Linked DNA regions of Homo sapiens: regions 2 and 3 are each linked to region 1. Evidence: promoter capture Hi-C in 16 types of primary human blood cells and fetal thymus (Javierre and others, 2016). All regions are on one chromosome and are shown on one strand. The core of a region is centred on a gene start or on the middle of the fragment in contact, and the rest is flanking DNA. Distances in the headings are between cores, read along the strand shown. Region 1 holds the start of TAF2 (TATA-box binding protein associated factor 2). Region 2 has its middle 140 kb from the start of SNTB1. Region 3 has its middle 160 kb from the start of SNTB1.

Evidence for each region. The method cuts DNA at HindIII sites, captures the fragments that hold promoters and counts their contacts. A CHiCAGO score of 5 or more calls a contact.
Region 2: a fragment that was not itself captured here is called in contact with the fragment with the promoter of TAF2 in region 1 in 1 of 17 cell types (total B cells); the score reaches 9.2 in total B cells.
Region 3: a fragment that was not itself captured here is called in contact with the fragment with the promoter of TAF2 in region 1 in 1 of 17 cell types (naive B cells); the score reaches 5.5 in naive B cells.

What each region holds. Positions count from the first base shown.
Region 1 is chr8:119,830,945-119,835,091 of GRCh38, reverse strand. TAF2 (TATA-box binding protein associated factor 2) reads left to right here and starts at 2,251. Exons shown (of 26, transcript NM_003184.4): 1 at 2,251-2,610; 2 at 3,361-3,415. The coding sequence starts at 2,528. DSCC1 (DNA replication and sister chromatid cohesion 1) reads left to right here. Exons shown (of 9, transcript NM_024094.3): 9 at 91-1,116. The coding sequence ends at 199. It overlaps LOC105375728 (a long non-coding RNA gene), which reads right to left and starts at 2,213. Exons shown (of 4, transcript XR_928590.3): 1 at 2,016-2,213. RefSeq lists enhancers at 2,130-2,489, 2,550-2,599. The HindIII fragment of the contact is 3,868 bases long and covers 1-2,325 here.
Region 2 is chr8:120,949,415-120,953,052 of GRCh38, reverse strand. No RefSeq gene overlaps it. Among named protein-coding and RNA genes, the nearest start is that of SNTB1, 140 kb to the right of the region's middle. The HindIII fragment of the contact is 2,603 bases long and covers 731-3,333 here.
Region 3 is chr8:120,966,717-120,970,677 of GRCh38, reverse strand. No RefSeq gene overlaps it. Among named protein-coding and RNA genes, the nearest start is that of SNTB1, 160 kb to the right of the region's middle. The HindIII fragment of the contact is 987 bases long and covers 845-1,831 here.

The DNA of each region.
Region 1 (4,147 bases), core at 1,002-3,501:
AGGGGGAGAGAGAGAAAATAAGTACATAGTACTGTATCATAATATGTTCCCTAAAATATTCATGTTATATATTTTTTATTGTTCCTACAGAGATTTGTGTGGAGAGAAGCAAACCATAGGTGCATTACTCACTAAATATTCTCATTCTTCGATGCAAAATGGTGTTAAAGTTTATAATTCGAGAAGACCCATTTCTTAAAAGAACAACGGTCTTTTCTTCAGGACTCAAGTTGCTTTATAAAGTTGCTGGATAGAAGAAAAATAACTTGTACTTTTATTTCTGACTTTTAGAAACCTAGTCTTCTAAGGCATTTTTCTCCTCATCTTAAGCATTTTGAAACTACTGTTATTTCTTAAATGTTATAGGATGTAGCTTTAAAATTATATTTGTACTATGTACACAGTGTAAACAAGGACAAAAGAATTCTTTCCTATATTATGTCTGAGGTCTCTATGATTTATTTAAAGTTTGGCTTTTTATATTTAAAATGTCATTTCTTTACTTAGGATTTGATGTTCTAATCATTAATACACTTAAGTTTTCCAGAGAACTAAATAGTAATAGTTTCATAGAAGAGAACTATTTATTCACTTAAATATCATTTCTCAAGTGAGTGAGTTCCCCTCTACTTTTAGCCTTCCACCCAAACTGGAAGCCTCTAGGTGCTATCAATTATTTATATCCATCGTTTACATCCATGAAATTGGCTGAATAATTACTCCTCTGCCTGGCGTAGACATGCGCTTTGGGAAAAAAACGAGTTTATAATCCTATAATGAAGAATACTGGCACAGGCAATGCTCACTCGAAAACTTCAAGTAATTTCTAGTTGGTTTTGGAATGCTTGATAAAGTTCCTTTACAGCTTTATTTTCCTGATTTGTTTTGGTTTAGATCAAAGTTCAAATTAATTTTAACTTAGCTAATGAACTCATCACCAGGACAGTTGGAGGGGGTAGGCCGAGGTTAAATGGTCCACGTTTCAAAAATGTTAATGGCTAATCCATAATTAAAGAAGGTTTAACTGTTACTGAAGTTTACAAGTTTTATTGTCATGAACATGAAATACAAACACGATGGCTTCGAAATGTCTTTCAATAAATGTTTCTGCATTTATATGGATTATATGATATATATACACAGTCTATATATCTCTATGTAGTCTATTTATTTATTTTGAGAGGGAGTCTCGCTTTGTCTCCCAGACTGGAGTGCAATGGCATGATCTCAGCTCACTGCAAACTCGGCTTCCCGAGTTCAGGTGATTCTGGTGCCTCACCCTCCCGAGTGGCTGGGAATACAGGCGCACGCCACGACGCAGGGCTAATTTTTGTATTTTTACTAGAGACGGGCTTTCACCATGTTGGCCAGGCTGGTCTTGAACTGCTGACCTCAAGTGATATGACTGCCTCAGTTTCCCTAAGTGCTAGGATTACAGGCGTGAGCCACCACGCCTGGCCTGTAGTCTATATTTTATTCTTTTTTTTTTTTTCTGAGACAGTCTCAGCTCTGTCGCCCAGGCTGGAGTGCAGTGGAACGATCTCAGCTCGCTGCAACTTCCGTCTCCCAGGTTCAAGCAATTCTCCTGCCCCAGCCTCCCAAGTAGCTGGGATTACAGGCGTGCACCACCACGCCCAGCTAATTTTGTGTAATTTTTAGTAGAGACGGGGTTTCACCATGTTGGTCAGGCTGGTCTCGAACTCCTGACCTCAAATGATCGGCCCGCCTCGGCCTCCCAAAGTGTTGGGATTACAGGAGTGAGCCACTGCGCCCGGCCTTGTAATCTATATTTTAAAATAAATACTAAGGCAGCAGTGCCTAGTGAGAGCTGTGGAGTGCTGCAGTTTTGACATTTAGACTACCTGCAGTCTAATCACATATTTTACAGCTTAAATCACCGGACCCAGTGTGTCTGTTCACACAGCAAGCCAGAGGCACGCACCTCCTGATTTCGGGAGACTTCCCACCACCCCACCCCGCCCAGTTACTAGCACCCTGCCCCAGCCTATTTATACCTGGCTCTTCGCAAACTTTGTCCTCCATTCTTCTCAATATGCTTGTACTAGAAAACTACCTTCCCTCCTTTTCTTCCTGCTGTTCTCGCTTCATCCATTAAATAGTTTTTTCCCTATCCTAAATTTTAACAATTCTTTACGATAAGACACATGCGAAGATCGCAAGCCCTGCCCATTGACAAGACTTCCTGGTTCTACCCCCGCCGCCGTTCCACTTCCGCTGACGTCGGAGGTCAGAGGTTACAGACAAGATGTCGGCGGATGGTAGCTTCGAGCCCTTGCGGAGAGGAGCATCTCTGTGACAGAAGCTTGTCGACGGCGGCTTCTAGGAGCTAGTCGAAGGAGCGAGGTTGAGGCGGGCAGCGACCCGTCAGGTCGCTCACCTGGGCACCGGCCAGCTGCGAGACGTGACTTGGGGACCGCAGGGGAGTGGAGAGTGTGAGGTGCCAAAGACTAGTAATGCCCCGTATCCCCCTAGGAAGCCGGGAAGCCAAGCTCCGCGGGACCGCTTCATGCCGCTGACTGGTGTAGAGCCCGCCAGAATGAACAGGAAGAAAGGAGACAAGGGCTTTGAAAGCCCAAGGCCATATAAATTATAAGTATTTTTTCATTTCCCTTCCTTCCTTTTGGTTTTGTTGCCATTAATTATATTTTGCGATTGCTTGAAATTGACTTGGTGGGCCTGGGAAACCTAGTGGGAAACTAGAATTTACTCACTGTGATGGAAATGGTGTTTGTAAGGTAAAAATGTTTTGAATGACAGGTTATTCAGCAAATTTAATTCCCGTTGCAAGTTACTAAAGTTTTTGTCTAAGTACTAGATTGTATTTCTGTCAAATCTGTTTTCGTGACTGTTGCTAGATTTTAAAAAATTATCCCAATTGGTAGAGTGTTTTTTTTTTTTTAATTTTTTAATTTTTAAGACGGAGTCTCTCAGTCGCCCAGGCTGGAGTGCAACGGCGCGATCTCGGCTCACTGCAGCCTCCACCTGCCGGGTTCAAGCTTTTCTCCTGGCTCAGCCTCCTGAGTAGCCGGGATTACAGGCGTGTGCCACGATGCCCGGCTAACTTTTGTATTTTTAGTAGAGACTCGGTTTCACTCTGTTGGCCAGGCTGGTCTCGAACTCTTGACCTCGTGATCCGCTTGCCGTGGCCTCCCAAAGTGCTGGGATTACAGGCGTGAGCCACCGCACCAGGCCCCAATTCGTAGTTTTAAAATGAAATATTGACATGTAATTTTGAATTACTTAGAACATAGTCCTAATTTATACTTGGATAGAATTATACTTTGATTTAATAATAAAAATTATTTTTTCCTTATTTTCTTTTTATATTTATTAATATACAACCCATCAGGTCGTCTGCATCAACAACATAAATTTCCAGAGAAAATCTGTTGTGGTAAGTTTATTCTCAACAATTATAAATAGTAACAAGTCCACTATAAAGAGTAACAATCCACCCCTCACAGTACTTAGAAAGTTTGTAGTCTTCCAGATAATTGTGTTTCAAGAATAGGTAAGAATTAAAATTAGGGTCTGTATGATTACAAGTTCCATGGTCCTTCTATTAATACCTATTGCCTCCCAAATTCTCCCTTTCCTTTTTTTTCAATTTCCTAATTAAAATTTTATTCCTCTTTATCTGGTGTATAATATGAAAGCCTGTATAGCCAAGCATTTTATAATTGTGCATGAAACAAGTATAAGCCCATAGCGACATTTCTTCTATGAAAAAAATTAAGATTAATACACTCACTGACTTGGCTTCTAAGAGGCCATTTTTGCTTCTTGACTGACTTGGTTTAGGTGATGTTGCTTTGTAATGAAGTTTTAGATAGAGTATTTGAGATCTAGAAACCCTCTACCTCCCCCTGCCTCCCGACACAATTTAGATGTATGGATTGCTGATATAATCAATTTTAGGAAAAAGCTTGAACATTCAAGTTTTTTGTTTGTTTGTTTGTTTTTGGAGACAGAGTCTCGCTCTGTCACTGAGGCTGGAGTGCAGTGCTGTGATCTTGGCTCACTGCAACCTCCACCTCCTGGGTTCAAGCAGTTGTCCTACCTCAGCCTCCCAAGTAGCTTGAATTACAGGTGTGCATGACCACGCCCAGCTTATTTGTGTATTTTT
Region 2 (3,638 bases), core at 783-3,282, 1.1 Mb before region 1:
TTTTCCTAAGAGATTATCACAGGACAGGAAAGTGAGAGTCAGTGGATCAGAGAGGGCAGCAGGTAGCAAAAAAATGATGTTATCATTTTTTCTGTGCACCCAATTAATACTAGCAAGAAAATGGTTACACATGGTACTGAGAGTTCATAGTCCCAACAGCCAATATTAATACCAATATTAATATTGACCTCTGCCCCCACTGCTCCCTGAGCCACACAAAGCACTGTATGAGGCTCTCCATGCAAGCTCCGTGCCCTCCTTAAGCCAATCCCTTCCTGCAAGGAGGAGTTTCTCTACTTGGTCAGTCTGAGTCACGCACACATTCATGAATTGAAGACAAAGCCACAGGATTGAAGTTCCTACTGGTTCTATTGTAATCAAGTAGAGGGTTAAGAAGCATTTCCCAAAAGGAAGGGATGCTGAAAAAGAAAAAAAAAAAAAAAAAAGATGGACCTTACAATACCAAACGTGTGGCCTACCACATCAGCACACCCGTATTTACTTGTTCTGTTGTCAGTTGTCAGAAATCATCTACTTCTGCCTTTTAAACTAACCTACTTTTTAAACTTTTTTTCTTGAATAGTAGGATTGATTCAGAGAATCAAGGAGCAGGATGTCAGCAAGGCAGAGTAAACGTGAGGTAGACTTAAAGCAAACTGATGTAAATTTAATTCCTGGTTCTTCCAGCAACCTGTACTATTTGTGACAAATCACTTCATATCTCCAAGCTTTAAAACTTCTGTAAGTCTTACAAAATTAACCTTAAAAGAGGGAAAAATAGTCATTAGCCACATGAATGACCTCAAAAACAATTCAATACCTCCAAGCCTCACAAGTCTTTTGTTTTGTTTCGTTTTTCGTTGAGACGGAGTCTTGCTCTGCCTCCCAGGCTGGAATCAAGCAATTCCTTGCCTCAGCCCCCTGAGTAGCTGGGATTACAGGCGCCCACCACCATGCCCAGCTAATTTTTGTATTTTTAGTAGAGATGGGTTTTCACCATCTTGGCCAGGCTGGTCTTGAACTCCTGACCTCAGGTGATCTGCCCACCTCAGCCTCCCAAAATGCTGGGATTATAGGCGTGAGCCACTGCGCCCAGCCACAACTCTAAAAATCTTACAAAATAGGGCTAGGCACCATGGTTCATACTTGTAATCTCAGCACTTTGGGACGCTGAGGCAAGAAGATTACTTGAGCCCCAGCGTTTGCAGCTACAGTGAGCCATGATCATGCCACTGCACTACAGCCTGGGCAACAGTAAAACCCTGTTTTTAAAAACCATAAAAAAACTTACAAAATTAATCTAGAGAGAGAAAAGAATAGTCAACAGCCACATAACTGACCTCAGAAACAACTTTTACATATTTGATTTTCCTTAGATAAATAAGTATATAGTCTACATTATTGTGCATTCATTAGATTTTAAAGATAACATCAAGGAACATAAAACTCAACCTTATTTTGTTAAACAATAAAGATGTCTACTTTGTTCTATATAATAAACTGCCCAGGTAAAGGTTTAAATATAAGAGAAAAAAAGAAAAGTAGAAAGAGATAGAAACACCAAAAATTCTAAGAAAAAGGCAGAGACAAGCACAACGAAATTAAAAAGTCAAACCCAGAAAAACAAGCATCACAGAACCTGAGCAATACAGTGACTTCTATAGAATAGGAGCACCATCTTGTGGAAGGTAAGGATACTGCAGCTGAAGGCTTCTGATGCCTTACTCCATCTTCTCAACTATGCAACAATTGTAAACAGCAACATCACTTTCTTGGTACTTTTCCAATGAACCAAGTGAAATTAAGTAGAGGAACAAGACCCAATGTATGGACTGCAGGTTCCCCAATTCTTAGAGGAAATAATGGCTCATAGAATGTCTTCAAAACATCACAAATATGAGACACACATGAAAACATTCAGAATAAATCTAAAGGCAATGAAATTATAAGTGAGGCTGTCTTAATCTTAAGTTTTCTGTGACTTGTTTCACTGATCTCAATTAATTAGTGTATTTATTTGAATGTGAATATTTATAGAGTATATGTTATATACCCCAGATACCACTATGGCGGTGTGTGTGTGTGTGTTGCATGATTCCATTTATGTCAAATGTCTAAATAGGAAAATCCATGAGAAAGAAATTAGATTAACGATTTCCTAGGCTTGAGGTTTGGGAGCAAATGGTGGGGATGATGGCTAATTGGTACAGGCTTCCTTTTGGAAGTGTACCCTTTTGGGGGTGATGAAGAGGTCTTAAAATTGATGGCTGCTTGGGAGGCCAAGGCAGGCGGATCACCTGAGGTCAGGAGTTCGAGATCAGCCTGGCCAACGTGGTGAAACCCCATCTCTACTAAAAATACAAAATTTAGCCGGGCATGGTGGCACGTGCCTGTAATCCCAGCTACTCGGGAGACAGAGGCAGGAGAATCACTTAAACCCGGGAGGAGGAGGTTGCAGTGAGCTGAGATCACGCCACTGCATTCCAGCCTGGGTGACAAGACAAAACTCCATCTCAAAAAAAAAAAAAAAAAAAAAAAAAATTGATGGCTGCCATGGTTGCAAAGCTCATGAATGTAGTAAAAGTCACTGGAGTATTCACTTTCAAGGGGTGAATTCTATGGTAAATAAATTATATATAAATAAAGCTATTATCAAAACATGTATTTGTAAAGAAAATGCAGCAGAACTCATTGGGACATTTTTGAATATGTGTAATAAAGATAAAAATTTGCATTGATAAATATTTGTACATCATCCTTGTTAAAATATATGAATAAAATGTGTTCTGTGAAGGATTACCACTATTTGCTTGGTCTCTGTACCACACAGATCAGTCTGTACATATGATATAAAAACAAATTGTAATTTACTCCTACAGTCAAACAAATGTTGTTCTTTGACAGAGTGAACTCAAATCACTTACCTGTTTTGTGAAGCTGCCAGATACCACTTTGGGTGCTGGAGACACACCAGTGAATAATACAAGGGCCCTGGCCTTAAGGAGCTTTTGTTCCAGTGAGAGACAAATGATCAAGAAGCAAGTAATTGTAAAGTGCCATATGATATAAGATGTTATAATGCTAAATAAAGCGGTGTGGCAGACAGGAAGTGTAGGGATGAGGGAGGGGACTGCTGTTTTCTACAGAGTGGATAAATTAGTGAAAACTAAGCAGAGACATGAAATAAGCAAGGGAGTGAGTCATGTGGCTATGGAAGAAGGTAGAACCAAAAGCAGCTAATAAACGAGGTGCTTGGGCTCTGAAATCAGATATACCTGAGCCAGAATCCCAGCTCTGCCATTTACCAACTCTGTTACTTGAGCTCCCTAAGCTTCAATTTCTTCATCTACAAAATGAGACAAATAATGCATTATCCGATGTTGCAAAGGTTAAATGCATATAGAGTGCTTTTCACAGGGCCAGCCACATGACAAATGTACAGCAACTGTAGCCAACACCTATGTCAATTTGACCACGTGAACATGTAGATAGATATTTGAACACTCTTGTTTCATTTTTATGGGATTTTCAATAATAGCTAACATTTATTGAATGCTTACTCTGTACGTCTTAAAACCTCACAATGTCAAAAAAGGGTAACATTATTTTCATTTTATAGATGAAGAAACTGAGGCTTG
Region 3 (3,961 bases), core at 89-2,588, 1.1 Mb before region 1:
GCAAAGCATTGAGTCAAACGTGGATCCGTTGAAACATGGGCTACCGTGCAGCTTCACAGCTCTCATGCTGATGAAGCCAACCCTCGTAATCTAGTAGATGAGACAGACACAAAAGCAGCTACCTTATAAGCAAGAAAGATTGTTCAATGTTCACACAAGTAATGGGCTATCAGCATGTAATTCTAGGGGATCATCAGGGTAAGCACCCCACAGTAGGAGGTATTTAAACTGGACATTAAATGAGTGAAGACACTTTGATAGGTATACCGTGGGACAAAGTATATCTTTGGGAAACCGGAGAAGAAAAATACGGTGGTGTGACATGTTTGTTTAATAGAGAACAGGCCAAAAGGCCCCAGGGGCTGGAACGTAAGGTAGTGTAGGTGACCTGGCACCGGTACTGAGGATCCGGAAAAGTCACTTGAGGTCAATTACTTGGGTGATCCTGGGACCCAGAATTCCCTGACTTTTGACTTTATCTTGCATTGGATATACTGAGCCTTCCGAGATTTTTAAGTGGGAGAATGACACGCTCAGTCTTAAAATTCCAGTAAAACAAAATAACTCCAGTGCTAATGTGGCAAATGGATCAGAGAAGAAAAGCCAGAGACAGATAAAATTGTGAGAAAATAGTCACCAATGCCTAGGGAGGGAAAATGGGGCCCTGTATTACAGACAGAAAGGAGATTGATAAAAGATACTGCAGTGGGCCTTCCTCCTTTGAAAAAGAAAGGAAAATTGCCAGGAATTTATATATTTCTGAAATAATGACGTGAGGTGGGTGGATAGGTTATAAAAATTCATGCAGCATCCCTAAAGAACTGAATGCCAGGCTCAGGAAGCTTGTTCTTGGGCCCTGTCAAGCAATAGAACAAGCACAGACCACGCTAACATGTTCAAGTCTCGGGAGCTGTCACCAAGGTAAACTCAAAAATGTCACGGTCCAGGACCGAAGGACCCACCTGGAGCTGCCCTCAGCACTGTGTCCTTGTTCCAGTCCAGCTTCTGAGCTGTTGAGATGTAGACAGATCTGAAACATCTAGTTCTTACCAAAAGCTCAAGTTTAGTAGAGCTGGGCAAGCTCAAGAAAACTCAGAAATTATTTTTACATATTTTTCATAAAAACACTAGAATCATTACTAAAAAAAAAAAAAATAGTAGATGAGGGCCGGGCATGGTGGCTCATGCCTGTAATCCCAGCACTTTGGGAGGCTGAGGTGGGCGGATCACGAGATCAGGAGATCGAGACCTTCCTGGCCAACATGGTGAAAACCTGTCTCTACTAAAAATACAAAAAATTAGCTGGGCCTGGTGGCTCCTGCCTGTAATCCCAGGCAGGGGAAACGGTTGAACCCTGGGGGGCAGACATTTCAGTGAGCTGAGATCATGCCACTGCACTCCAGGCTGGCAACAGAGCGAGACTCCGTCTCAAAAAAAAAAAAAAAAAATTAGATGGTTAAGAACCAGAAAATTATTTTAAAAATTGCCTTTGTAGGATCTATTTAAATATCTAAAGCATCATTTTATTTAGGAGAAACTTTTAACAAATAAAATTTTGATACCAAAAAATAGATGACAAACATTAAAATATTGGTTTCTTGCTCTAATTCAAAGTAGAGATATCTGCAGCATATTACAGCTGAAACAATTGTATAGAAAGAGCCTGGTTGAAGACATGGTTCTGTAATATACAGTTGATCTGACCTGAGACAAGTCATTATGCTTCTCTGAGACTCTACTTCCTCACCTTGAATATAAGCATCGGATTACTTCCTTTGCAAACTTCCTAGAGTATTAAATCAGGCAAAGATAAGCAGATATACAACAAGCTTTGAAGGCTCCAACGGACTCTAGAAATCCTGGGTATTATTAGCAGTATTACAGATCTCAGTGGTCTACAACTTTTTATCTTACAGTTTTAATTTACTTCCTTATAACTAACATGGTCCCAAGAAAATGTGGAATGAACCTATTTGAATTGTTGTTGTTGTGTATGTGCTGTTTTATTTGTATTTTTTTTTTTAGTGAAATAAGACACACAGGAAATATTAGCAGACATCATAACAAGAGATTGGAATACAAGGAATAAATAGGAAGGCCTGCCAAGCTCTTCAGTGTCTAACAAAGAAAATATATTTCATTATGTTGTCTTCTGAGCATATGGGAAATGTTAAAATAAATGAACCCAACAAATACTTGTAAGTCTCATTTCTTTTGCTTCCCTGCCCCCCAACAGAAAACACTCATAAATCATTCATTTTATGTAAAACTAAAATTATTACCTCCTACTTGGCTGCTTCTGACTGTACAAACTGGTCATGTTATGTCCAACTGTTCCCAGCATCAAGAATTCAGCTGGCTCTTGCTCTAATATGTCTTAAGTTCACTAAGTTTATGTTTCTCCCACACCCACTAGACAGAAAAGCTCTTGAGGGCAGGGGCTGACTTCTCTGTAACCTCAGCTCCTCCTTCAGTGCCTGACATACCGTAGGTGCTAATTCAATGGTGAAGGAATGAGTGAGGATTAAATAATTCTTTTACCGTATGCACAGCCAGATTTTCTTTTTCATAATTATCAAATATTCATGAGTAGATTTTTCCTGTTATCAATTTTTTCCCCAAAGACGGCAAAGACTGGGTTGGATGCCTTAGTTAGGCATCCTTTAGTTTTTTTATATCTATGTAACAAACTTCACCTAATACACAAATTTCATCTTTACACAGCTGTAGTGAATATTAAATGGGTTTACACATGTAAAGAGTTTAGCACTTACATGATATGTCCTCAGTAAGCTAAAGATTACTATTATTCATCCATAAGAGGAACTGTAGTGGCTCTGAAGTCAGATTACCTGGATTCCTATCCTAATTCTCCTGTTGCTGCTATGCGATGTGACTTTATCTCTATAGTGGAGAAAAGTACTGCTCATCTCATAATACTGTAGGAGTTTCACATGAGATACTCTGTATGAAAATAATGCAAGAAAATTAAGCACATGCACAGTGCTGGAAACATAGTATGCAAATAATAAATACTAGAAAATAAAAAAAAATGCAAGAAACATGTGTTAATCACTTGCTATATACAAGACACTAGGCTAGCTACTCTGGGGGAAGAGATGTAAGATAAGACCCAGTCCCAAACCTTATGGGGTTTAGATTCTCAGCAGAATCTCAATGTAAAGCTGTCAAGGGAATAGATGATAAAGAGGACAGATAGACTTCCCCTCTGTTGTTCTCCCAGAGCTCTGGGAAAACAACATAACTTTTCTGTCATATAACTGAAAGAAAAGGGATTTATACTGCAGCCATGTAAAAGGACCATCAAATGTCTCCTAACACTTTAACTATTAGATGTTAGTGGTATATAAATAATAAAAATAACAACCTGATTAAGCTGAAAATTTTATATTTGATTTCATTTAATCCTTACAACAAAATTGCAAAATAAGTACCATTACCCACACTTTACAGATGGAAGTTCACAGATGATACATAATTGCCCAGGGTCATATATTAAGTGTGGCTATACCTAACTGCTCTATAAACCCAAAAATGCACACTGGCACTAACACAATAGACGTTCATTTCTTGTCTACTAGGTTGTTGAAGAGGAAGGCAGAGACCTGGCTGCCAGAAGCTCTGTCAATTTCGATATTCTAGCAGAATAAAGAGGAGAAAGAGGATGCAGGAGAGTATCTGGGAGGGTTAAGGAACCAGGCCTGGAAGTGGTGCACATCACTTGTGCAAAGTTTCTGTAATCTAGAACGCAGTCACCTGTACACACTTAACTCCAGGAAGAAATGGGAAATGTGGAATCTGGCTAGGTAGACACTTCTCACGTATAACTCCTTACTGTTGAACAGGAAGCATAAATATCTGTGTATCTTCAGCCCTCTCTAGACGAAATATCTGTGTATCTTCAGCCCTCTCTAGACAAGAAAGTAAGTACCAAAGTCAT